Linked DNA regions of Homo sapiens: regions 1, 2, 4, 5, 6 and 7 are each linked to region 3. The links are contacts of gene promoters, found by promoter capture Hi-C in blood cells and fetal thymus (Javierre and others, 2016). All regions are on one chromosome and are shown on one strand. Each heading gives the region's core, a stretch centred on a gene start or on the middle of the fragment in contact. The rest is flanking DNA. Distances are from core to core; before and after follow the strand shown.

Region 1 (3,449 bases), core at 204-2,703, 2.6 Mb after region 3:
CTCTACCCTAAACAAGCATGCATGCACACATGGATCTATTTCAAAGTAATCTTGTTCAATGATCTACTCATACATTTTGAGTCCAGTACCACACTATTTTAATTGTCATAGTAATTGTTTTAAAAAACTGAAACTGTGCTCCAAAAAGTTAAAGAAAGCAGTGACTAATGAAAATTCTTGAGTTTGCAGGATGGCAGATATGAAAAGAAAGAATTTGCAGAAAGAAATGCAGAAACTCTGTTCAAATTTGCAGAAAGAAATGCAGAAACTCTCTAAGATAACAAAACTGGCTGAAATCGGTTAAAACCAATATGGACTGCAGTCTGTGCAGAACAAGCTTGCTGACATCACAGCCCAAATTTCCACCACGCTTCATACTAACTCTCCCGCAATTTGCACATGCGACCCATCAGGTGGCATGAAGAGATAGCTGTGCATGCTGAGGACTTCCCAGGCCTCCCCTTTTCTTCCACCAATTACTTAATAATCTCAAAATCCATCCCCTAAGGCCTTTCTAATAAAAATTACTCCCTTAAAGCCAGCACAGGGAGATAGACTTGAGCTGGATTCCTGTCTCCTTGTTGGTTGACCTACAAAAAAAGCTTTTCTTTTCTCAAAAACCTGGTGCCATAGCATTGGCTTCTACTGCATCAGGCAGTGAGTGCTTCTGCTCGGAAACAATATGGTTGAGCAAGTCCTCCTCCTCCGCTTTAATTTTAGTTTTCCATTAATTTTCTGGTTTTTCTGGGAGCACTGCTTGAGCCTGGGAGGTCGAGGCTGCAATTAGCCATAGGCCACTGCACTCTATGCCTGGGTGACAGAAAAGTACCATTTACTTTTCTGAGACAAACATCAAAATCAAGCTTTCAAGTTTTTTTTTTTTTTTTTCAAAAGAGAAAAAAAAACCTGCTGGGATTCTGACCAAGAGTATATTTAATACACACATTAATTTAGGGAGAACTGACATTTTTATAATGCTGAGTTTTGCCCAGAAAAATCACGTCTCCATTTATTCAAGACTTCTGGAAAAGTTTACAGTTTTCTTTACAAATGCTTTGTACATCCTTACTTACTCCCTAACTCATTCCATAGCTTTTCATTTCTCCTTTACATTTCCCATGTCTTGATTACCATAGGGAATTTCAGTGTTCTGGGCGACCATCTACGTTTTATATCCTAATTCATTTAGCGGTAGGTGATAGCCAATTATGCAGCTCACCTAGAACTATTTTTTCAATGACTTATTTACAAGACCATGAAATGGCTCCTTTTCACAGCAATCTGTTGTTTTAAGACTTCTGATAATCTCTGATGGCTCACACCCTTTATCTCTTAAGGTTCTGAAAATACTCTTACATTCTTTGCACAACTTTAAAGTTCCCTTCCATAACTTAGAACTCTGCGACATGTTTTCTGGCTGATCCTTCTTTGTACTGTCATTTTTGTTTGAAACATTATCTTACATGAGAGTTTCTCTTGCACTCACTTGTTCATTATGTGGTATCAGAATTATTGCCTAAACTACATACTATAGGGTCAAATCTCCAAACCAGGTCTTTTATTAGTAGCTGGGGGAGCTCTTACATGGTTACTACAACTCAACCCCCAAAGCCTGAACTGCATAGGCCCCTTTTTGTTTGTTTATTCCTCTTCTAGCCATCTGTAGGTCACCTGGCTTTATTCCCAATTTACCCCCCTATGGATTCTCCCTCAACTCCTTGTACTCTAGGAACTCTCCAACCAACTACATAACCCTGTCTTTTTGTTTTCATTCTATCCTATCTATTATTTCTGTCTGGCCAAGTACATGGGTTAAGCCTGCGTCTTACCTATTTTTGTACAAACTAGCTAAGAATAGTTTTAATATTTTTAAATGGTTCAAAAAAATAAAATTCAAACACATGAAAATTATTTGAAATTCCTATTTCAGCACCCATAAGTAAAGTTTTACTGGAACATAGCAATATTTATGCATCATCTAATAACCATTTTCATGCTTTACCAGCACAGTGGAGTGGTCGTGACCAAACCCATATGGTATGCAAAGCTTTAAATATTCAACAGCCTTTTGTACAGAAGACATTTGTCAACTCACACTCTAAAAATTTTCCACATATAGTCACTGTGCATTTAAAATGTGACTAGTTTGAGATCAGCTATATTCAAAGCTGACTTGAGATCAGCTATATTTCAAAAACAATATAAAGAAAAGAATGCAAAAATTCTCATTAGTAAGTTCCATATTGACTACATTTTGCAATATTTTGGATATGAGCTAAATAAAATATTCAAATTAATTTCACCTATTTTTTAATTTTTAAAAATGTGATTACTAAATAACTGCAAATTATATGGTACATATTATACATATTTCTATCGACTAGTCCTTTTCTAAATGAGCTATTGGCCAGCTAAGAGGTGACCAGGCAAATTTGGATAAAAAAGATTGTCAATAATGAATTTGCTTAACTGTGGAATTGAGTTAAAATGTGGGGTCAATTTTGATACACTATGCTTTCTAGGTTTTCAAATTTATTTATATTAGGTTTCTCACACATGAAAGTTCTGCCACATCTTTAAAGATTACGTAAGTCCAATATTATTAAAATACTCTAAGGCATTAAAATAAGAAAGAAATGGCTGGGCGCAGTGGCTCATGTCTATAATCCCAGCACTTTGGGAGGCTGAGTCAGGTGGATTACTTGAGCCCAGGAGTTCGAGACCAGCCTGGACAATAGGGTGAATCCCCGTCTCTACAAAAAATTCACTGGGCATCATGGCTCGAGCCTATAGTCCCAAGCTATGTGGGAGGCTGAGATGAAAGGATTGCTTCAGCCTGGGAAGCTGAGGCTGTACCACTGCACTCCAGTCTGGGTGACAGAGTAAGACCCTGTCTTCGAAAAAAAAAAAAAAAAAAAAAAAAAGACGTATCTAAAATTATTTTTGTGAAGCAAGAATGCTGACACTAAAAAACGTGAAAAAACTGCAGATACACAGAGACTAATTTCATCTAACTATATAGATGCAAAAATCCTAAATGAAATACTAGCAAATTGAAAGAGTATGTTAAAAGAAATAATTATTATATACAAGTCTTTTTTATTCCAAGAATGGGAAGACGATTCAACTATTTTAAAATATCATTCATGAAATCTGATATATGGTACTTGAGTTTTCATAGATAACACTTTAAAGCTACAATGAAAGACAGGAAGAAAGCCATTTACAATAACAAAACATAAAATACATAAAATAAACTTAGAATGAAATATGCAAACCCCTATGAGAAAAATTTTAAAGCACTCAAATGACACTACAGTAAACTTGAACAAAAATAAAGACACATCACACCCTGGACAAGAATACTTGATGTCAGCAGGGCACGGTGGCTCACGCCTGTAATCCCAGCACTTTGGAAGGCCGAGGTGGGTGGATCACTTGAGCTCAGG
Region 2 (3,783 bases), core at 981-3,480, 2.6 Mb after region 3:
CACAGAAAACTATTCACATTTGGTGAACACCATTATTATAGGCATAAATACAGATTTAAGGATGAACAGAGAAATATGCAGCTAGAGTAACATTAACAATAATAGGTTCTTTCTCCACATATTATTTTTAAAACAAAGTATTTTTTTAAATACAGTATTGAATTTGTTTTCATTTGAATTTGACAAAAGAGAAAAACAGAAGGAACTGATCAGATAACTGTTACTTCATCTCAAGAGAAAATGATTCATAAAACATTTCTCAAAGGCTAAAAATTTATTTATTTATTTATTTATTTATTTATTTATTTATTTATTTAAAAGTGGGCGTCTTGCTGAGGCTGGAATGCAGTGGCTGAACTGCATAGCTGCGGCCTTGAACTGGAATGATTCACATGATCCTTCCACCTCAGCCTCTGTAGTAGCTGAGACTACAGGCATAAGCCACTGTGCTCAACCTCAAAGGTTAAAATTATAAATATCATTAATAGGACATTGTAATTTTTCAAACTGTATGTTTCAGTATTGATCAGTGCTGAATTCCTTTCCATTGAAGATAGATTAACAGTCTGACTTTTGCTGAGCGCGGTGGCTCACGCCTGTAATCCCAGCACTTTGGGAGGCCAAGGCGGGTGGATCACGAGGTCAGGAGTTTGAGACCAGCCTGGCCAACATACTGAAACCCCATCTCTACTAAAAATACAAAAATTGGCTGGGCATGGTGGTGTGCGCCTGTGGTCCCAGCTACTTGGGAGGCTGAGGCAGGAGAATCACTTGAACCCAGGAGGTGGAGGTTGTGGTGAGCCAAGATCGTGCCACTGCACTCCAGCCTGGGCAACAGAGAGAGACTCTGTCTCAAAAATAAAAAAACAGTCTGACTTTCTACCACCTCTTCCCTGTCCTTCCTAATTTTTTGCTTATAATTTTTTATTATATTAATACTTTGTCAAAAAATACTTCGTCAGGTTTTATGATATTTACATTCTATTTTATCCATGATTTCCCTGTTGATTTGTCTTAATTTCAGTATTTAAGTATATTCATTGTTCACTGCTCTATTTCTGACCTGTTCATTTTGATTTGCTTATATAGATTTCATCATGTATCAGTTAGCATTTACTTGTGTTACAAACTACCCCCAACGATTATTTGTTTATTCGATCACAACCTGTGGGTTGGTGAATTTGGCTGGGTTCAACTGGGAGGTTTTGTGGATCTTTCCTGGCTCACTTATGCAATAACAGTCAGCTGGTGGCTTAACTTAATGGTTGAGGTTTGGTGATCAGCCAAGGCACCTTGTAGTCTCTCCAACAGGCTAGCTCAGGCTTGTTCACATGGTAGCAGACTAAGAATGGAAGCTGCAAGGCCTCTTGAGAGGGCTCAGCTTGGAACTCAAATAGTATCCCTTCCACCACAATTTATTGGTGAAAACAAATCATGACGCCAGCCCAGATTCAAAAGACTTTATCTTTTGATGGGAGGAATTACAAAAAAATTTTTGTTCATTCCATGATATCCTCATATTGCAAGTTATTTCATGTTTAAAAATGACCTCCTGGCCAGGCACAGTGGCTCATGCCTGTAATCTCAGCACTTTGGGGGGCCAAGGAGGGCGGATCGCTTGAGCTCACATATTTGAGACCAGTCTAGGCAACATGGTGAAACCCCATCTGTACAAAAAATACAAAAAAATTAGCTGGGCATGACGGTGTGCGCCTGTAGTCCCAGCTACTTGGGAGACTGAGATGGCAGGATGGTTTAGCCTGGGAGACAGAGGTTGCAGTGAGCTGAGATCACACCACTGTGCTCCAGTGGGCGAGAGAGCCAGACCTTGTCTCAAAACAACAACAACAACAAACTAAAAATAAAAATGCTTTCCTCTTTTGTTAAATAACACCTATCCTCAGGTTTTGCTTTTTTCTTCTTTTATGTATTTCTTTTAATTTTATAAAAATGTGAATGGCCAGGCACAGTGACTCACGCCTGTAATCCCAGCATTTTGGGAAGCTGAGGCAGGAGGATCACTTGAGCCCAGGAGTTCAAGACCAGCCTGAGCAACATAGCAAGAACCCATCTCTACAAAAAAAATTTAAAAGTATTAGCCAGGCATAGTGGCATGCCCCCGTGGTCCCAGACACTCTGGAGGTTGAGGCAGGATGATCACTTGAGTCCAGCAATTCAAGACCAGCCTGGGCAACATAACGAGATACTGTTCAAAAAAAAAAAATTATAGAAGAAATCTGCAAACTACACCTCTTAACAGCTAGCTCTCTGTTAGGCTCTGCAAATAGTGGGCAACTAGAAAAAGATTAGAAGGCAGAAGAAGGCCAGGCACGGTGGCAAAAAGATAGAAGGCAGAAGAAGGCCGGGCGCGGTGGCTCACCCCTGTAATCCCAGCAATTTGGGAGGCCAAGGTGGGCAGATCACCTGAGGTCGGGAGTTTGAGACCAGCCCCACCAACATGGAGAAACCTGGTCTCTACTAAAAAAAAAAAAAAAAAAATATATATATATATATATATATATATTTTAAAAAATGTAAAATATATATATAAAATATATATATATATAAAGTATATATATAAATATAAAGCCAGGCATGGTGGTGCATGCCTGTAATCCCAGCTACTCAGGAGGCTGAGGTAGGAGAATCGCCTGAACCTGGGAGGCGGAGGTTGCGGTGAGCCAAGATGGTGCCATTGCACTCCAGCCTGGGCGACGAGAGTGAAACTCCATCTCAAGAAAAAAAAAAAAGAAGGCAGAAGAAAGGAGAAGTCTTTCGCTCCTTCCTGTTCGCATGTAATTTTTGTCAGAATGACCCCAGAACGGTATGTCAGCCCAACTGCAGCAGCTGGTTCCAGTTTCCAATTTCCCTTGCATTCTCTGATTAGAATAGAATTAGCCTTGTTTTACCCCCTCAGAGGAATAAGCAGCAGCTGGACCGCACCCCTCCCTAGAGGCCTAAGACCCAGCTCCACGGGGCCTCTTCTTCGAACTCAGGAGCATCCAGGGTACCCCTTCCTCAGAGGTCCATGTCCCAACTCTTTGGGGCTTCTCTTCTACATAGAAGGTTCAGATAACATCCACCTCTCTCCTTTATTTCCCTTTATTCCTTTATTTCCCCAGGGGTGGTGGCTGCTTACTGCAGTTACTCACTCTGTGTTACCTCACTAACCCTTTTTGTTTTGCCATCTCTTGAGTGCCTATTTAACCAATTCCCTATGTTAAATTCTCTCTGTTGAAATAATCAATGTGGTTTCTGTTTTTCTGACCAGACCTTAATCGATGCATCATCTTCTGGAACTTATTTTATTGAAGTCATGTTATTATATTCTTTTCTAGCATCAGCGGTTTCAGAAAATGTGACTTTATGTCTTTCTGTAAAACATCTTTGCCCATGCCTTGTCAGATTTTCTGCGTCTTCTTTTTTTGTGTTTAAATGAGTTTGTTTTAGATAACATTGTTAGTTCTTACATTTTAAACAGATTTATTGAGAGATAATTCACACACTATACAATTTAACGTGTACAATTCTATGGTTTTTAGTATATTCGCAAATATATGCAACCATGACCACATTCAATTATAGAATATTTTTATTAATCTTATTTTTGCAATCTTTTATTGAATGGTGCTGCTCCTTGTGGAGCAGGGCTAATTCATAGGTTATGCACCCAGCGTCTATATAGAATATTTTTATCATTTATTTTCTTTTTTTCTTTGTTTTTTTTTTGAGACGAGTCTTGCTCTGTCGCCCAGGTTGGAGTGCAGTGGCGTGATCTGGGCC
Region 3 (3,613 bases), core at 161-2,660:
ATATTTTCAGTCCCTTGATTGAGTCCACGGATACAGAGGATGCACTGATAACTGTATTATTTCTTCCAACTTGCATAAGAAGAACTGAAACTTAAAGAGGTGGTACCAACCTGCTCAGAGTCACACAATTCTGGCTTTTTGTGATATAAATACACGCTTTTAGGCAATATACTAGTGGCCTCCAAACGTTTTGTACTTGCACCCATTAAGCAAAAGAAATTTGAAATACATGTTCCAACATAAAATTAATACCCTATGTTTCACGTAGAAATCAAATGAAATAAATCTAAATAGAAGTTCTAATATGTTCCCTCTCTACCCACACACCCATGGAACAAACTGCATGCCACTGTATATACTATTGTACATGTTAAAAGATCACACTGCAACCATATAAAAGTCAGGAGATTTGGGTTTTTCTTTTTTCCTTTGAATATATATTACTGAGAAGTTTGCCTTTAAAACACTGGCTTTTAATCTACTACTCGTGACATATGCAGAGTAATAAGCGCTCACAAAACTTCTGTCTTGAGGGCTCAAACACCAAATGATTGCTCTAAGAATTTTCACAGTATTACCTCAAACCCTATTGGTTCTACAACCTTTCTCTACCCTAGAGTCCTGTTTTCCGCAATTCCCAATTGGGATTCTTCTCCGGTTCATTTCTGTAAGAAATGAGGGCAGAGAAATGCCATCAGTAAACCTTTGAACACATGTTAATTTTTCTAGGTAATACAATTTGCATTTTCGTAAAACTGGGCTTTAATGACAAATCCGATTTCAGTGATCTTTGCATACACCCTTTAAACACACCAGTTGCCGCCTGCGAGATATCATCAGACTCATGCTAAGAGCCACTCCCTACCCCAGCTTTCCCCAGACCTCTCCCCGCTTTACAGTTATTCGCCACAGCCCGGGAGAGTCTGGGGACGGCCGCCTGGGAGGGGACGGCCGCCTGGGAGGGGACGGCCCGGAGCAGACGCCAGGTTTCCCGCGGCTCAGGAGACCGGTGCCGCCTCGGAGAGCGCGCGAAGGTGCCGCCGGCCGCCCGACCCGCCCGAGGAACGGACATCTCCCGCCCGGGCCCGCAAGGACGACCATGAACACCGCCGCAGCTCAGCTGACCCTGCCTCTCCCGGGTGGCTGGGGGTCGCCAGCCAAGGGGGCAGCGGGCGGAGGATGAACCCCGGAGCAAGGGAAAGCGACAGCGCGCGCCTTCACCCTACCGCCAACAAGTCGAAGTCTCCCAAAGGAACCTGATCGGCGGGGCTGCCGTGGTACGACCGGCCGCTAAGGCCACCCTGCGGGCGTCTCGACCTCGGCTGACCGCCGCTGGCCCCCTGGGAACCGCGTGCCGGCCGCAGGAGAAGGTAGATTCCCGGGAGCCCCGGCGCCCACCGCGGTACTAACCGCGCCTGCGCCCCGCCCTCCCTCCCTTCGGGCTCCGCCCGCGCCTGCGCAGTTGCGGGGTTTCGCGCCGCCGGAGTCTGAGAGGCCGGAAGTGCCCCTTAGCGGGTGGGGGAAGCTGGTAGGCACGGGCGGCTCCGCAGTGACCGGACTCGGGGGAGGTGAGTGATTTGCCTAAGTAAAAGGGAAAGATAATTGAGCGCCCCCGGCAGCTGGTCTACGCATGCGTCCGCTAGGCCGGCTGGGAGCCGGCAAGGGAAAGCCGAGCGGGCCCCATTGGGGGAAAGGGGTCAGTCACTTCCCGGAAGAGGCGGGGCCGCGCGGGCCCGGCGCTGGATTCGAAACGCTTCCTGGTGCTCCTGGGCCTGGCGGTTGAGCCCGGGGAGCTAGTCTTTGCTTGGGTAAAGAAAGAGGACTTTCCTTTTTTTTTTTCCTTTTGAGAAAATTCAGAAATTTGGAGGCACAGTAGTTAGGATTCAGGCCAAACTGGTAAATGACGAAGGGGCTTCTTCCAGAGCCAAGGAGGAAGGGTTGTCCGGGTAAGTCCCGCGGGACGTGGAGAGACGGCGCCGCCCGGGTCCTCCCACTGATTCCTTTGACCATCTGGCTTACGGACGAGCTCTTTGTTCGCTGCTCCTCCGAAAACGCCTTCAATGACTCCCTTTGAATAAAGTAGGAAGTCCGAACCGAGCCGCCAGGCCGCGACTTGGCCCCTGTTTTCCACTCGCGAGGGCCCTGCGTCACCCCGCCTCGGGAAAGCTGCGCGTTCTCCGGCCGCTTGCGCTTGGCCGAAGCTGCTGGGTCCCGCTGTGCTTCCCCCGGGCATGCGATGGGGATAATTCCCACGCCTCGCTCAAAGCCATCCCGGGAGAGCCCTCCCTGGTCCCCATAGGCACAGTTGGGTGTTCCCTTTTCCGTGTTAACCTTGTATTTCGGATATAGTTCTGTTATAGTAATTACTTTAAGGTATTGTAGTTATTTACAATCAGTCTTTCCCCCACGGTAACCTAGAGTGTAAACCCCCTAAATAAACGTCAGAAGTAATGAAGTCTTAACTTCCTTGGCTTAGGTTTCAGCGCCCTTCTCAACCCCACACTCCCGCTTCAGTCTTTACACAACCCTTCCCATGAATATGCTGACCTAACAAGTAACCTACTTTTCATACTCCAAAATCTTCTCTTCTGTGTGGGGAAAATAATGCATTGACTGCCACCTCACTCCACCTCCAAATAAATTGATGTTGAAATTCTGGCCTCCGGTAATGGAATTCTTTACATCAAAGTCACTTTTTATTTCTAAAAGTAATCACATATATATTATATTCCTACTGTGGCCCTTGCCATGGATCAACGAAAAATATGACATAGTCAAAATAGACCAAAACATCTGGCCTTGTTGTAACCAATGGGAAACACGGTTGGGAGGTCCCTACTTACATGTCACTTGCTTCAGGAACCGTTCCTTGATTCCTAAGTGGGGGACCTTTTTTCCTAAATACAACTATAGCTTGCTTTCTTACCTCTTAAGCCCTTTTTATCTGCAGTCTCACTTACCCTACTAAGGTCTTTAAATGCAGGGCTTGATCTTCCATTATTGTATCTCCAGCACCTATAAAGCTTTCCTGTTAAATAGTAGACATTTAATAAGTATTTATTGATAAACGTGAAGTATGCCTCAACGTTTAGGCTAAATTCATATGAAAATAAAATTGAAAAAATAATTTTAAAGAACAGCATTAGTTACTGAGATTATGTGGTAAATCCCTTAAAATATAATCTTGCATTGAAATAGTTTTCACCATTTACCAGTCTTTATATGAATATATACTCATCTAAATGGAAATTGGGAAATTTAAGCATTTTCTGCTTTTCCGAAGTAAATTTTCTAATGTTTTTCTTAAAGCTGAACTAAATTGCAAAACTTGCTTTAATAAAGTGTGTATTTTTGCATCAGTTAAGCCCCTGACCTCTTTATGTTCTTTAAATTTGATTCATTAGTGAAATTAACAAGGTTCTGTGTTTTTCTCACCTCATTCAGTTTTATAATTAACCAATAAAAGCTTATTAGCTTTTAAGGAAGTTTTAGGAACTTAAATTGATTTATGGGCACCATATGGTTACATCAAAGGACTTGTTTTTGTTTTAACTGGAAGTGGATTCTTAAGTCCTTTAAGATGGAAATTTATGTTCTTTCTATTATACCAAGC
Region 4 (3,742 bases), core at 722-3,221, 2.9 Mb after region 3:
AGACGCTTCTCATGACGTTGTTGAATGTCCCTTAAAATTGTGTGGCTGGGCGTGGGGGTTCACACCTGTAATCCCAGCACTTTGGGAGGCTGAGGCAGGAGGATTGCTTAAGCCCAGCTTGAGGAGTTTGAGACCAGCCTGGACAACATAACAAGACACTATGTCTACCAAAAAAATTAAAAAAGAAAAAGCTGGGCATGGTGGTGTGTGCCTGTAGTCCTAGATACTTAGGAGGCTGAGGCAGGAGGATTGCTTGAGCCCAGGAGTTCCAGGCTGCACTGAGCTATGATCACACTACTGCACTCCAGTCTGGGGAACAGAGGGAGATCCTATCTCTTAAAAAAAGGAAACATTTGTGCTGTAAATTTCTCTTAAAATTTAGTGTCTCTTTCAACAGGTCACCAGAAAGATGCAACTCATCGTTTCCCTTTTTATCTTGGTTGCCAGGAGACTCCAAGCTAGCCCCGTGTCACTCCCTGCTGTACTTCGGGGTCTAGTTCATTTCACCTTTGTCCTAATAATCCTGGACCTGTGTCTCTTGGTCTCCAGCTGCAGGTCCTTTTCACAAGAGGCCAAATGGTAAATAATAAGCCAATGAGTGTGTGATCTCAACCCTCTTGAAATTCTCTCCTCCCTTAGCTCCTCTGACTCCGTAGATACCCACCCAGTTCTCTCCTCTCTGCCTCAACTGCAGACTCCTCCTTCTCCCCAAGAGTCCCTGAACCCCTGGCATCCTCAGGATTTCCTCCTCAGCCCTTCTCTCTGCCTTCCACTTCTGTTCTCTGGGCAACTTGATCCACTCCCAGATTTTTAATATCACCTCCAAGTTGATGACTCCCAAGCCTACATCTCAGGCCTGAGCTCGTCCCGAGCTCCAGCCTCATGTATCCATCCACAGGGCAGACACTTCACACTCCACATGCCCCCTAGGTCTGCTCCTCCATCATATTCTTTATTTCAGTTGGTGGAAACAGTCAGCAAATGTGGTGCATGTTACCCAGTAAACATTTTCAACTCTCCCTTTCCCTTCCATACCAAGTGCAACTGGCCTGCTCCAAGCCCTTGATTTGGGAATGACCATATTGGCCATGTATCTGGGCTCCCTGACACCTGTTTTGTTCCTTCCAATCCAACTCCATGCTCTCAGCAGATTGGCTGGTTAAAGGCAAAAGGGTCCACGTCACTCCCCTGCTTAAAACTCTCCTTGGCTGCAGGTTAAGTCCAGGCTCCCGCAGACTCTCCACAATCTGGATCCTGCCTGTCACTCACCTTCATCTTCCCCGCTTCCTCCCAGGACCACACTCAACTGTGCAGAGTTCCCACTCAATGTCCTATTTCCAACCTCCGTGCCTTTGCTTAGGATGTGTTGTCTGCCCGGGACACCCTTCTCACCTCTCCTGCTGAGCCCCATCTGTTCCTCAAAACACAGCTCAGCCACCGCCTCTTCCAAGAAGTTTCCCCAGGGTCAGTTAGGTGCCCCTTCTCTATACCCCCAGAGCCCCCCAGGTGCTCCTGTCCCCATCTGTATCTGTCTCTTTAGAGGTCTGCCTCTCCACGGACTGAGAGCGTCTGATTCACCCTGTGTCCCTTCTGTCTAGCATGGTCTGGTACTCCAGGCCCTGAGCAAGCAACAGACAGAGAAGCACTTGCTCTGGATGCTACTTGAACCCTGGTGGGCAGATGTGTCTGCCCGCCCGGACCCCGGGCACCCTCGAAACATCCTGGCCAGAGCCTCCGGCTCACCAAGAACTGGACGACATCCTCGGGCCTGTGCTTGGCCGACTTGAACGCAGCCAGACGGGTCACCACCAGGATCTGGTACTCCACGTGTCCAGACATCATCTTGCCCCGTACCTCCTGGTGCTGGGGCACAGTCAGGTCGAGGCCAGTGTGGGCATTCTGAAGTCGCCTGCCAGGGGAAAAGAAGGCAGGTGGGGTTCAGGGTCAAGGCAGTAGGCTTCCCGAGCAAAGTGCAGGCAGGGCCTCTGGGTGCCTGGCAGGCCTGGGTGCCAGGTGACTCTGCTGGCTGTCCTCAGTGGTCACTGCTCCAGGCCACCCATCCCGCCACACCAGCCCTCATAAGCCTGGCTTCCCAGGCCTCGAGGCCTCGGACCTGGTCCTGCCTTTGGGTTGCTCAGGGACAAAGGTCTGCTCCCTGCAGGAAAACAGGAAAGGATGGGGCTTGTTGAAAGGGATCGACACAAACTCTGTGCAGAATGGGTGGGAGCAGCATCCTAGGGCCTCTACTCAGACCAAGGAACATGCCTGGGGCTGCAGGGACAGCAAGGGATTGAAATCCCAGCTGGAGACAGGCACCTCTCTTTGGCTAATGGGCAGGAGGGCTGCTACAGGCCCCCTGGGGGGGACACGGGACGAGCACTGGAGGCAGGACCCTTGTGACCCACCGTGGCCCAGAGAGGCACTGATAGGCCCGTCCCTCATCTGGGCAGTCGATGCTGCCCCTCGAGGTGTAGAGAGGATGCATCGGCAAAACATCACCGCTCTTGGAGATTTGTAAAATGCAATTCGAATATAATGAATTGTATGATGAGCAAAGAAGTGATGAGATGTTTTTCTTGAAGTGGAAAAAGTTATTAAATACATCCCTCATCCTACATAAGGTGAGACACAGACCTGTGCAGACTAACATCCCTCACGCAAACACCTCTGGCAGGACACGTGGGGCACCCTCTGAGCAGCTCTGACCATCGAGGTGAGACCTCCTGTGTGCTGGGCAGGACCCTGAAAACACGGGAGGAGCTTCTGGAGCTTAACCTGTGTCTGGGGCAAGGCCCTTCCCTCTCTGGAATTATACCCCAATCCATCAAATCCCCCTGCCCCAGCACTCCTCCCACACGGACCCCTCACATCCCACGCTAGGCCACGCTGTCACCAGCACAACGCTGCTGTCACCAACTGGTGAGGCCTACAGTGATGCGTCTCCTATGCCATGTATGACACCCAATGACTGAGTGCTGTACACACAAGGAATATCCTCCCGCGGCGTAGGGCACCCCAGGCAACCTGCCTTCAGGTGGTGAAAAGTGCAGCAAGGGCCGAATGGGCACTGGGAGGTGCACACGCACAGCCAGCCCTCTGCCAACGGCACCGAGTTCACGCAGTGTGCACGCGCGGCCTGGTGTCACCCACGGTGTCACTGCCACCAGTGTGGAGGAGGAAGGTGAGGCTGGATGCTGAGGGGAGACGCGCTGGGCTCTAGGGATGCACCTGTGTGAAGTCACTTCCGCCTCCTGCAACCCTGCGAAGGAGCTCTGCTACCCAGACCCACTTAAAATACAGGGAAACAGACCCCTAAAGGGAAAGTGCCTGCCCAGGTCTCACCCGGCATGAGGTGGAGCTGCGTTCAATCCCAGGCAGCTGCTCCAGAGCCCAGGTGGCCTCTTATGGGGCAGGCATGAGAAAGAAGCCAGGCATCATTTCTTTAGGATCATGATGAAAACGAGGCACAGGGGGGTGAAAGTGACAAGAAGGGCAGTGCCTGAGCTGCGGGGAGGTCCTCTCAGGGGTGGGAAAGGGATGGAGCAGACCCAGATGGGCACCTCCCACGATCCAGCTCCCTCACAGCACCCCACATCCAATGGTTCTCTGACCACGCCAGAACCCACAATCCATAACCCCACCCCTTTTCCAGGGTCCCATTCCATTGCTGGAATCCCTCTGCCTTAGGCCCAGCTCCCCTGACTTCTTACCCAGAGCTGAGCTGGCCTGGTCAAAGCCCACT
Region 5 (3,559 bases), core at 279-2,778, 2.9 Mb after region 3:
TGCGAGGACTGAACCTCACTAGGCCTCTCTCTCCCACCCGCAAACATTCTCGAGTGTTATGCGGCTCAATGCCCCAAGGTGAGCAGGCGCCGCGTCTCCGCGGTGGCCGAGAGGGCAATGGCTGAGGAGTTCGTTTGGGACGAAGCAGTGGAGCAGGGGAACTGGGGAGCCTGGGCCGGGCCTCTCTGTGGGTCCCAGCGCAGCGCAGCCAGGCAGGCGTCGGGACCTAGGCGGCTTTGGATTCGGCGGGCGACCTCGCTTTGAAGCTGATCACCCGCTCAAGGTGATCACGACGTGCCGACCCAGTCTAGATTTTGAGTTCTGCAGAAAATGCAATTTTAAAGGAAAAGGACCCGCCTGCCCTTCTTCGGCAGTTCGTTTGGCCCAGGCCTTCGATCAGCTGAAAGTTTCCGATCTAGGGGGATGTCCAGGCTGCCGGCGGAGCAGAGCCGATAACCCCCCTCTCCTGCGCGTTCCCCTGAGACTTGGCCTCCGCAACCTGTCCCAGCCGCGGAGCAAACTGCTCTGCGGCCCGCGCGAGTGCGCCCCAGGGCTTCGCCGCTGCCGGGCGTCCCCTCCATCCACCTCGGGACCCGCGCCATCACCGCGGCGGGGTAAGAAGCTCGGAGGCGCCATCCCGGGGCTCTGCGCCGTCCGCTCTCCCGGCTCCTGGCCGCTCACGCACACAGCCGGTAGCTGGTTTTCGTTAGCCGCTGCCCTCGCCCAGAAGGCGGGTGGAAGGTCGCCAGTTGGACGCACAGCCAAACTCTTAGCGCACTCCCGCGCGAGATCCCCCATCACCCGGGGCTGCCGTCCTCATTTCGAGCTCTTTCTAGAGCTTGGCTCCCGCTGAAGCGCAACTTCCGCGCCCAAACCTTGCTTTTACGACGGGCGGTCCGCGTCCAAAGGTCTCTTACAGGCCTGCCCTTTCAGCTCCTCGCCCTCCCTTCCTCCCCTACCGGCCCCCTCCCCTGCTCTGGCCGCCCGCTGCAATCCTTTGGGGTCTGTGGCTGAGTGGGGAACCGCCGACCCGCGATCCGGAACGCGACTTTGAGGCCGCCGGGAGCATCCTGTGGCCTCTCTCTGCGCGGCCACCCGGCCGCGGCGCGAAGCGGTCTGGAGGGCGAGCCCTTCCGCGGCCCCAACTCTGCCGCCCCGTTCCCGGCATTGGGAACCAGGGCAGGGAGGGGGCGGGTGTTTCTCTGCGGGGGAGTGGGGAGGAAGCTGGGCGGGTGCGCGCGGTGCCCCGAGCCTGGAACCACGGAGGGCGCGTTGGTCTTGGGCGGATGGAGGGGGTGTCGCACTGCCGCGGGGAGGCGTGTCGGGAGGCTGGGGCCAGTGGCAGTCGCTTGGCGAGGGTGGGGGCGTAGCGCTGCGGTGGGAGGAGGCGGCTCCGGCCCTGGTCTCCACTCTAGGCCGGGGTGGGGGGCGCATAGCGGCCGCCGGAGCTTTCAGCAGGGGGCGCTGCTCCGGGCGTTGGGCGGGGGTGGGGTGGGCCAGGAGGGGGGGCCGCGGGCTGGCCGCGCACACTTCCCCCATTATTAAACACTATGTTCAAAAGGCGCCGGGGGACTTCCCGGAGCCACGGAGCCCGCGCCGCCCGCCCGCCCGGCCCACGGAGCCCATGGACCTGAGCGCCGCCGCCGCGCTGTGCCTTTGGCTGCTGAGCGCCTGCCGCCCCCGCGACGGGCTGGAAGCGGCCGCCGTGCTGCGAGCGGCGGGGGCTGGGCCGGTCCGGAGCCCAGGGGGCGGCGGCGGCGGCGGCGGCGGCGGGCGGACTCTTGCCCAGGCTGCGGGCGCCGCGGCTGTCCCGGCCGCCGCGGTTCCCCGGGCCCGCGCCGCGCGCCGCGCCGCGGGCTCCGGCTTCAGGAACGGCTCGGTGGTGCCGCACCACTTCATGATGTCGCTTTACCGGAGCCTGGCCGGGAGGGCTCCGGCCGGGGCAGCCGCTGTCTCCGCCTCGGGCCATGGTCGCGCGGACACGATCACCGGCTTCACAGACCAGGCGACCCAAGGTACTTACGCCTCTTCTGTGCCCGCCCATCCCGTCAGGTCCTGGGCTGAGACCAGCCCCGGAGCCGTGCCGCAGCTCCGTTACATTTGGAGCCGCGGCCCCATGCGGCCCACCCTCAGGTGATAGAAAGAAACTTCGCCGAGGCCAACACTCTCCAGCCCGCTGCACCTGGACTGTGGCGAGAGTCGCGGCAGCTCCCGGGGCCCAGTCCCAGAGGGCTGACTGGTCCCTCTCCCAGGTCTCCCTGGCCTTGCAGGCCGGCTGGTCCCCTCGAGGAGGCAGGCGGAGGCCAAGATTCGCTTCTTGGGGAATGGTCTGGAGTGGCCTCGGAGCCCTCAGAGAAGAAAGGAGGGCAAGAGCTGTGTTCCCGGGAGTCACGGCGAGAGGGACTGCACGGTGGTGAGGGTGATGGCTCCTTCCTTGCAGCAATTTCTGCAGCTCCCAGTCTCCTGCGGGCCACACAAATTGGGGGAAGCCCAGGGAAAACTAGGGCAGAGGCAGGTATCAGACTAAAGTAAATGGCCCTGGAGAGGCTGGTGGCATAACCAGGTATGAGGAGTGCCCTGCTCAGCAGGTTGGTCTGGGTGGTGGTGGTTTGTGTGTGTGTGACATGTGCAGCTATGGGTGCCTGTGTCTGGTGCTGGGCCCCTGGGAGAGCCAGAGGTCAAGGATCCTGGTGGTGTGGGGAGGAGAGGCCTGCTGGGGACCCTGCAGGAATGCAGGCCTCTCTTAGACTAAGCACCCCACCTTGTTCTGCCCTGGGCCTTCCAAAGGTAAGATGTAGGTGAGGCTGTGGTGTGGCTGCTGTATGTCATCTGGATTTTATTAATCTCCATTGAAATCATTAAAGCAGACAGATAGAGAAAATTTACCTAATTTCAGGCGGAAATGCAAGTAATTTCGGCCTTAATTCTATCCAGCCAGAGACCCAGCATGGAGGGCAGGAGGGAAAGAAAGGCGAATAGGGCTGGGAAGTGAGCGGGTGGGGCTGAGGCAGCCCTGCTTGGGAGCCACTGACAGTCAGCATACCTCAGGTCCTAGCCTGGGAAGGCAGGCAGAGGCCTTGCAAGTGACCAGGTCATCCATCCCTGCCAGCACATGCCCAGTGCCTAGCACAGACTGCCTTATTTTTGGTACCTGGAAATCTTGGTACCCAATCCCCAAATGGCCCTGTGGTTCGGTTAGAACTATCAAGCCTTCTCTGACGGCCTGACATGGCCCCTGGGCTGGATGCTGGGATACTTATAGGACGCCCTAGTTCTGGTGCACAGGGACAGGGACTGAAGGGTCCCAGGCTGCAGGAGAAGGGGGGTGTGCTGGGCTCTAAGTGGGCACAGGCACCAGAGTCTTCTTAAGGTTGAGCTAGTTCTACCATGGTCTCAGACAGGAGATAAATCCTTTCTGGGGAGCTCAGCTTGGCTGGCTGAGCCTGAGAGGCCTCCTCTCCCTCCTCCCTCTTGGGGGAAACAGAGTGGCAGGGCTGGTGAGCAGGGAGAGGCAGAGGATCTGCAGGGAATCTCAGAGAAAGTGCTCCTCGTGCAGCCC
Region 6 (3,696 bases), core at 228-2,727, 2.6 Mb after region 3:
CTGTACAGCCTGTAGAACCATGAGACAATTCAACCTCTTTTCTTTCTAAATTACCCAGTCTCAGACATTTTTAAATACATCCTGTTTCTACAAAAAAAATTTTTTTTTAAAAAATTAGCCAGGCATGGTGACATGCACCTGTAGTCCCAGCTACTCAGGAGGCTGAGGTGGGAAGACTGCTTGAGTCTGGGAGGTCAAGACTGCAGTGAGCCATGGTCCGCTCCACTGCACTCCAGATTGGGTGACAAAGCAAGACTCTGTCTCAAAAAAATTTTTTAAATTAAAAATATTATTTCTTCCTGGATATCTGGTTCAATTTCTTACCATATGCCTACATTAAAAACAGGGTGGGGAAAGCATTTGGAGATACAATAAATGGTATTAAAGCACTCTACTGCCACATGGTACTAATCACACTTTTATAATCTTGTAATTATAAATTAACACCATAGTAGAAATTAACCTCTGGGGTCAAAGGGATTAGTGACTGTCTTAGCTATGTAAACGTTCAACATTTAATGAATGAAAAAAACCATATTTTATGAAATGTGAATTCCGATCATAAAATCAATTAGTATCTGGATAGTGACTAAGTATTTACATATCTTCATATATTAACATACAATGCTTATTTTAACATAAGGACAATGAACAAGGCTTTCGCTTAGACTTTTTGTACTGCTGAAGACATTTACCAACACAAAATGACTAATGATTGCAACTTCACACAGGCACTACTTCTCCAAGTCTGTCATCTACAGCCTGGAGACTGTACCTTCCTTTTGCATCAATTACAAAGACAACAAAATTACATAAAAACCTAGTTGAGTCACAAATAAGTCAATACACAGAGTGACTTAAGCTTCTTAGGACATATTCTCCGTAATCATCCTCCTTGGACTGTTTTGTTTTTTTTTGAGACAAGGTCTCACTCTATCACCGAAGCTAGAGTACAGTGGGGCAATCATAGCTCTCTGCATCCTCTCACCTCAGTCTCCGGGAGTATCTGGGACTAAAGGTGCATGCCACCACCCCCAGCAAATTTTTGTATTTTTTGTAGAGACAGGGGTCTCCCTATGTTGCCTAGGCTGGTCTCAAACTCCTGGGCTCAAGCAGCCCTCCTGCCTCAGCCCCTCAAAGTGCTAGGATTAAAGGTGTGAGCCACTGCACCCAGCTGGACTGATTTTAATGAACATAATCATTGAACATCCGTGGTATCTACGGCAAACAAACAAGTGCTGAATTCCTAAAGAATACTTTCTTCTGCTCAGCAAATTAAATCACTTTATTGCAAATCTGCCAACAAACTTTTTTTGTTTAGCAATGCTTTTTCTCATTCACATGACAAAAGTAAATCTAAATCCAGGTTTAGGTATTTATAGGAGACCATTAGCCTTTAAAGATTTAACAAAGTTTCTACTATTCAAACCAACTCTTGGTAATTTCTTATTTTTCTGAGGGCATAAATTGAATCATACAGTTTTTCAGTGACGAACAAGTCACTTAGCTAGTGGGTCAACCAAGAGCTAAATCAACAGTCTGTTTTCTAGTTTGTCCAAATACTTTCATGGGGGAGTTACCTCTGCTGGCTTTACTAGCAAGGCAAAAAAGCTCTATAACAAAGAATAGTATTACTGACTCAATTATAATAAGGAAAAGTAAAGTTTTATGTTTTGAATGAAATTTGGCATAAAAATTAGTGTTGTCAACATACAGACTTACAGAAGCCAAAAATCTCCTTCAAAGACCCTATTAGCTCAAAGCTCAAATCTTTTAATGTTTTATTCCAACCCCATCATTTAGACAAATCTATATATGTGCAAACATAAGATTTTTGTTCCATTAAAATTCTCTGAAAGGGGAATCACCATATATTTGGGTCCTTACAAAAGTTTCTCCTCTTATAAGGCATCCTCTCAACTGACTTATTTGGAGAATCAAAATACTGCTGAAGAAAAGTTGCCTTATTTTGAAAAATATACTACTTAGATAAGATCTACACACTAAACAGCCTCAATCTATGCTGGGTTTTGATGCTTTAGGTATTGTCTGAGAGAAGCAGGTCAAATAATTTAGATGGAAATGAAGATGACAAGCTTTAGAAAACTGTTTACATAACACAAAAAGCGTTTTTTTGTTTTTTTGTTTGTTTTTTTTTGAGGCAGGGTCTCACTATTGCCCAGGATGGAGTGCAGTGGCATTGATTATGGCTCACTACAGCCTTGACCTCCTGGGCTAGTGATCCATCTACTCAGTATCCTAAGGAGCTGGGACTACAAATGCATACCACTATGCCCAACTAATTTTTGTATTTTTTGTAGAGACAGGGTTTTGCCATGTTGCCCAGGCTGGTCTTGAACTCCTGAACTCAAGTGATCTGCACCTTGCCTTGGCCTCCCAAAATGCTAGCATTACAGGAATGAGCCAATGTGCCTGGCCTAAAAAGTGGTTCTAAAGTTAAAGATATAATTTTTTTTTTTTTTAAAGAGACAGGGTCTTGCTCTGTTGCCCAAGATGGAGCACAGTGACGTAATCAGGGTTCACTGCAGCCTTGACCTCCCAGGCTCAAGGGAACCTCCCAACTCCGCCTTCTGAGTAACTGGGACCACAGGTGCCACCAGGCCTGGCTAATTTGTGTGTGTGTGTGTGTGTGTGTGTGTGTGTTACAGACGGGGTCTCACCATGTTGCCCAGGCTGATCTGTGTGTGTGTGTGTGTGTGTGTGTGTGTGTGTGTGTGTGTGTGTGTGTGTGTGGTACAGACGGGGTCTCACCATGTTGCCCAGGCTGATCTGGAACTCGTGAGTTCAAGTAATCCTTCCACCTCGGCCTCCCAAAGTGCTGGGATTACAGGCATAAGTCACCACACCTGGCCTAGTATTCCTAAATTATTTTCTGTGATTTAAAATGTGACATCATCCTAATAGTGGAGTAAGACATTATATGATTCATAATGTAATATGAAACAGTACCACCACATATGAAGAACTGCCTTCAAAAAACACTAAGCTTCAATTTGTCTAATATTATAATAAAACTACTGATCTAAATACATATTTATGACATAAAATTTTGAAGCGGGGGAAGCAGATTACACAGACTGTGGTATAGGCCTAAATGTCAAAAAAAAAACTGTGTAAGCCTGCTTCTCACAAACCAACTATAAAGACTTTTTTGAGAAAAATCAGGGAAACTCAAATATAGAATGAGTATTAGATAACAGTAAGGAATTCTATTAGTTATGATACTAGCAAGAGGATTGGGTTTGTTTTTTGTAAGTCCTCATCAGTAAAAGCATTTATGCTTGAAATGGCATATTGTTTGGGATTTACTTTGAAATACTCCTTCAAAAAGTAAAATATGGGTATAAATAAGATTTCACACAATGTTGAACAAGGACGGTAGCTATCAAGGGTTCACAATACTTACTATTCTCTCTACATGTTTGAAAGCTTCCATAATAAAGTTTAATAAATGAAAAGGCTAGGTGGTTAGAAAAAAATAAAGTTTAATAAAATACATATAGCAGTCTGACAGAAAGCCACATAAAGCAGGTGGTATTTAAGCTGGGCCTTGAAGGTCAGTTACACAATTCAGACAAAAATATTTTTAAAACATTTATAAACTGCAGTTTTTAATTCACTTAGGGTCCAAGCCTTCATATGAACTTAATTTGGCTTATTACTTCCTCAAACATA
Region 7 (3,566 bases), core at 143-2,642, 2.3 Mb after region 3:
CTCAAAATTCTTAATACCATAGGTGTTAAGTCCATTCAGGCTGCTATAACAAATTACGATAAACCGAGCAGCTTATAAACAGCAGAAATTTATTTCTCATGGTTCTGGAGACTGGGAAGTCCAAGATCAAGGTGTCAGTAGATTTGGAGTCTGATCAGGGCCTGCTTTCCAGTTCACAGATGGCATCTTCTTGCTGTGTCCTCACATAGTTGAAGGGGTGAGGGGGTTTTTATATAAGGGCACTAATCCCATTCATGAGGGTTCCACCCTCATGATATAATCACCTCCCAAAGGATCCACCTCCTAATACCATCACCTTGGGGTTAGAATTTTAATTTTAATTTGGGAGGGACACAAACATTCAGACCATAGCACTGAGTTTAAACAATTCTCCATTAACTTCCATTTAGATTATTGGCTAATTAGTATTTGCTTAACAAAAAGCTCCTTGTCTGAATCTCAGTTTCTTCACCTGTAAAAGGGAAATAAGATTTCTTTCTTAATCAAGGTTTAATGTTCTTACTGTAATGAAAGCAGAAGGCAATCATGCCTTGAAATATTTCCACCACAATTTAATTATTCATCTCTAGTCCCTTGCAGGATTTCTTGTCTGCTGATATTGGTAATTATCTCCTCTAGTCAAATTAAATGTGTGGTTTTTATTTTTAATTGCTCCAGGGTATTAGAAGAATTAATTAGTAAGTGTTGGCCAACTACCTTGAAGATGAAAAGCACTATGTAATTATCACCATGGGAAAAGTGCTTTCCATGCGCTTTGCTGAATTCACTACTTAGGATTATGGGATTAAATGTTAACTTTAAGGACTTCTGGTGTGAATGTGGTAACATAGATTCAGCATCTTTCTTCTTTTTTTCTTTTTTAAATGCTACAAAAACAACAAAAAATGTAAACTTATCTTCAGCAAATTTGGGAGCAGATATAATCCATAGCCTTCAAAATATGAATCAGGGCTGCTGAGAGCAGCTAAGATTAGACAGAAGCCATATAGGAGAAACTGGCAAAGAGCTATGAGGTTCAAGTGGCAGCAGAATCCAGAAAGCATCAGTAAACATGATTCCTAAAGTGAGGGACTCACCATGTAGTGGAAATGTGTGGCATCTTGTCAATGGATTTCGGTGAGCAGACCTGGTGGCACCCAAGTCCTCCTGGAACCTGGTTTATTTCAGAGGAGGAGCAAAAAGATATTGGCTACACAATTTAAAAAGAGAAACCATCTGCATTGTTTTGCTAGGGCTACCATAGCAAAAGACCACAAACTGGGTGGCTTAAACAAGAAATGGATTATCTCATAGTTCTGGCAACCTTCCTGATGAAGGTGTTTGTCGAGTTCATTTCTTTTGAGGGGTGTGAGGAAGATCTGTTCCTTTCCTTTTGTGTAGCTTAAAAAGAGTATAGGTTTTTTTTTTGTCTTCAACTTTTATTGTAAGTTCTGGGGTACGTGTGCAGGATGTGCAGGTTTGTTACATAGGTCAATGTGTGCCGTGGTGGTTTGCTGCACAGATCAACCCATCGCCTAGGTATTAAGCCCATCATCCGTTAGCTATTCTTCCTGATGCTCTCCCTCCCCGCAATGCCCCCCGCCCCCAACAGGCCCCAGTGTGTGTTGTTTCCTCCCTGTGTCCATGTGTTCTCATTGCTTAGCTCCCACTTTAAGTGAGAACATGCTGTGTTTGGCTTTCTGTTCCTGTGTTAATTTGCTGAGGATAATGGCTTCCAGTTCCATCTCTGTCCCTGCAAAGGACATGATCTCATTAAAAGGAGTACATTTTAATCAAAGTATTTATTAGCATTGGATTCTAGACTTTCCTTTAAAAGAAGGGCAAACTAAAACACAGCTATAGACTCCAAGAAATGGGTATAATTTGGCTGTTTCTAAGTTAATCCAAGAAGTAAATGTAACTTCATAAAAGCTCAACATGACAAAACTTTCATAGTGAAAGTGGAGTCAGATTCCTCCGAGCTGTGATAGCCATTGCCATCTCATGAGATGGGAGGTGGATTCCGGGAAACCATCCAGGGAAGCTGGACTGATGTTTTAGTCCATGTGGGTTTCTATAGTGGAATACAATAGACCCGGTGACTAATAAACAACATTTACTTCTCACAGTTCCCTCTGGAAAGGCATCAGGGGAGGCATTTGGGAAAGCTGGCACTTTCCTTTTGCCCTTCACATCACATGATTGATTGGAAAAATGGGAAATGACAAGTGGCATCAACAAGCGGGGCAAAGAGCTAGCCCAGTCAACCTACGATGGGCCCCATTCAAGGGGCACAGAGGGACAGAGGGACAGAAGGCTGAAGACTGGCTGGCTGGGGTGCAGCGATGCTACAGAACGCCCCATGGGACTTGGCATGAATAGGAAGCGTGGCCAGGTCAGTGGGCCTCCCCTGTGATGCTCCTTTATCCAGCCCTTCACCAGGCCTGTCCCTGGGTCTCATGCCCTCTGCCATTGGCTAGAAAACTCAGCCAGTGACTGCCACCTGAGAAAGGAAGAAGAGGGATGTGGGCATAGAACAGCCACCCTCCTTGCCCTGCCCTGCCCAGCCCAGCCCACTGGGATCTGCTCTTCCTCTGAGCTCCCCAGCCTGGGCCATGGTGGTGCACAACTGCAGAGGGCACCATTCACATTCCCTGTGCGGGCAGAGTCCACGCCTGCTGCTGGGCAAGAGCACATCCGGCTGGTTTTATTCAGTATCTGGGTGTGAGTTTGTCTTACTACCTTGGCTAGACCAAACTCCTGGAGGGATGGGACATGTTTCTAAATCTTTTTATATACCAAACCACCTAACACTAGCCCAGCTTGATAAATCTTTGCTGATGGATGGGCAACCCAGACATGGAGTCATCTGCCCTGAATTGCAGAAAACCGGGCCATTGAAGCTCACAAGAACACGTATTCTAGAGAGCTCTGCAAACCTGCTTCTGCCCAGCTTTGGCATCTGGGGTTAGCATTAGCCGTTTAGAAATGTGACCTTTTATGACACAGGGCATCTCCCAGCAGTTGCATGATGTGACCAGGGTGGCTTTCTGCCTCTGCTACTTGTGTCAGTTTCTTCCTCCCTAAAAGGGTTCAGTAATGAGTGGGGATTTCATGAGCCATAGGCAGAACTGACTCTGCAGAGCTCGGAGTGGGGTTTGGATTAACCACAGTCATCACCACTGTTTATGCAGCTTTGCAGCCAGCCAAGGCTCAAATTTCTCCCAGAGGCCCACAATATTTCTCTGTGTGATTCTTTTGAAGCATGAGGCCTCAAACCCATACTTAAATACTTCTCCTCTAACGTAAGCTTTGGCGTAGCTAGATGATACTTCACTGAGCCTCCCAAGCCTGCCTACCTTCCATCTGGCCACTAACACTCAGTAAGAAAACTTTGAGCACTTTCAGACACTTTCAGGGTAGACTTGTCTAAGTGCTGGGCTGCCCTGCTGGAATCAACTGGAAATGAATGTTAAAAAAAAAAAAAGAAAGAAAAAAAAGAAAGAAAGAAAAACATTGAAATAAGAAAGAAAAACATTGAAATGAGAAATAGAGGATATGGTTTG

Evidence for each region. The method cuts DNA at HindIII sites, captures the fragments that hold promoters and counts their contacts. A CHiCAGO score of 5 or more calls a contact.
Region 1: a contact is called between a fragment that was not itself captured here and the fragment with the promoter of SMC6 in region 3, in 1 of 17 cell types (total B cells). The highest score is 7.4, in total B cells.
Region 2: a contact is called between a fragment that was not itself captured here and the fragment with the promoter of SMC6 in region 3, in 1 of 17 cell types (neutrophils). The highest score is 5.9, in neutrophils.
Region 4: a fragment that was not itself captured here is called in contact with the fragment with the promoter of SMC6 in region 3 in 2 of 17 cell types (neutrophils and naive CD8 T cells); the score reaches 10.5 in neutrophils.
Region 5: a contact is called between the fragment with the promoter of GDF7 here and the fragment with the promoter of SMC6 in region 3, in 2 of 17 cell types (neutrophils and naive CD8 T cells). The highest score is 8.0, in neutrophils.
Region 6: a fragment that was not itself captured here is called in contact with the fragment with the promoter of SMC6 in region 3 in 3 of 17 cell types (neutrophils, total CD8 T cells and total CD4 T cells); the score reaches 8.3 in neutrophils.
Region 7: a contact is called between a fragment that was not itself captured here and the fragment with the promoter of SMC6 in region 3, in 1 of 17 cell types (naive CD8 T cells). The highest score is 6.9, in naive CD8 T cells.

Annotation. Positions count from the first base shown.
Region 1 is chr2:20,302,565-20,306,013 of GRCh38, forward strand. All of the region lies in intron 7 of PUM2 (pumilio RNA binding family member 2), which reads right to left. Among named protein-coding and RNA genes, the nearest start is that of PUM2, 47 kb to the right of the region's middle. The HindIII fragment of the contact is 1,184 bases long and covers 862-2,045 here.
Region 2 is chr2:20,354,994-20,358,776 of GRCh38, forward strand. No RefSeq gene overlaps it. Among named protein-coding and RNA genes, the nearest start is that of PUM2, 6.0 kb to the left of the region's middle. The HindIII fragment of the contact is 4,865 bases long and covers 1-3,783 here.
Region 3 is chr2:17,752,400-17,756,012 of GRCh38, forward strand. It overlaps SMC6 (structural maintenance of chromosomes 6), which reads right to left and starts at 1,411. Exons shown (of 28, transcript NM_001142286.2): 1 at 1,227-1,411; 2 at 579-665. It overlaps GEN1 (GEN1 Holliday junction 5' flap endonuclease), which reads left to right and starts at 1,739. Exons shown (of 14, transcript NM_001130009.3): 1 at 1,739-1,946. RefSeq lists silencers at 887-1,246, 1,387-1,526. The HindIII fragment of the contact is 9,742 bases long and covers 1-3,021 here.
Region 4 is chr2:20,643,597-20,647,338 of GRCh38, forward strand. It overlaps HS1BP3 (HCLS1 binding protein 3), which reads right to left. Exons shown (of 7, transcript NM_022460.4): 2 at 1,744-1,909. Among named protein-coding and RNA genes, the nearest start is that of HS1BP3, 5.6 kb to the right of the region's middle. The HindIII fragment of the contact is 4,461 bases long and covers 1-3,742 here.
Region 5 is chr2:20,665,616-20,669,174 of GRCh38, forward strand. GDF7 (growth differentiation factor 7) reads left to right here and starts at 1,529. Exons shown (of 2, transcript NM_182828.4): 1 at 1,529-2,015. The coding sequence starts at 1,625. RefSeq lists enhancers at 272-1,102, 2,089-2,208 and silencers at 1,189-1,298, 1,369-1,418, 1,459-1,608. The HindIII fragment of the contact is 16,143 bases long and covers 1-3,559 here.
Region 6 is chr2:20,334,049-20,337,744 of GRCh38, forward strand. All of the region lies in intron 1 of PUM2 (pumilio RNA binding family member 2), which reads right to left. Among named protein-coding and RNA genes, the nearest start is that of PUM2, 15 kb to the right of the region's middle. RefSeq lists an enhancer at 97-156. The HindIII fragment of the contact is 1,234 bases long and covers 861-2,094 here.
Region 7 is chr2:20,059,652-20,063,217 of GRCh38, forward strand. It overlaps LAPTM4A-DT (LAPTM4A divergent transcript), which reads left to right. Exons shown (of 5, transcript NR_187142.1): 2 at 2,130-2,395. Among named protein-coding and RNA genes, the nearest start is that of LAPTM4A-DT, 9.3 kb to the left of the region's middle. The HindIII fragment of the contact is 3,831 bases long and covers 1-3,308 here.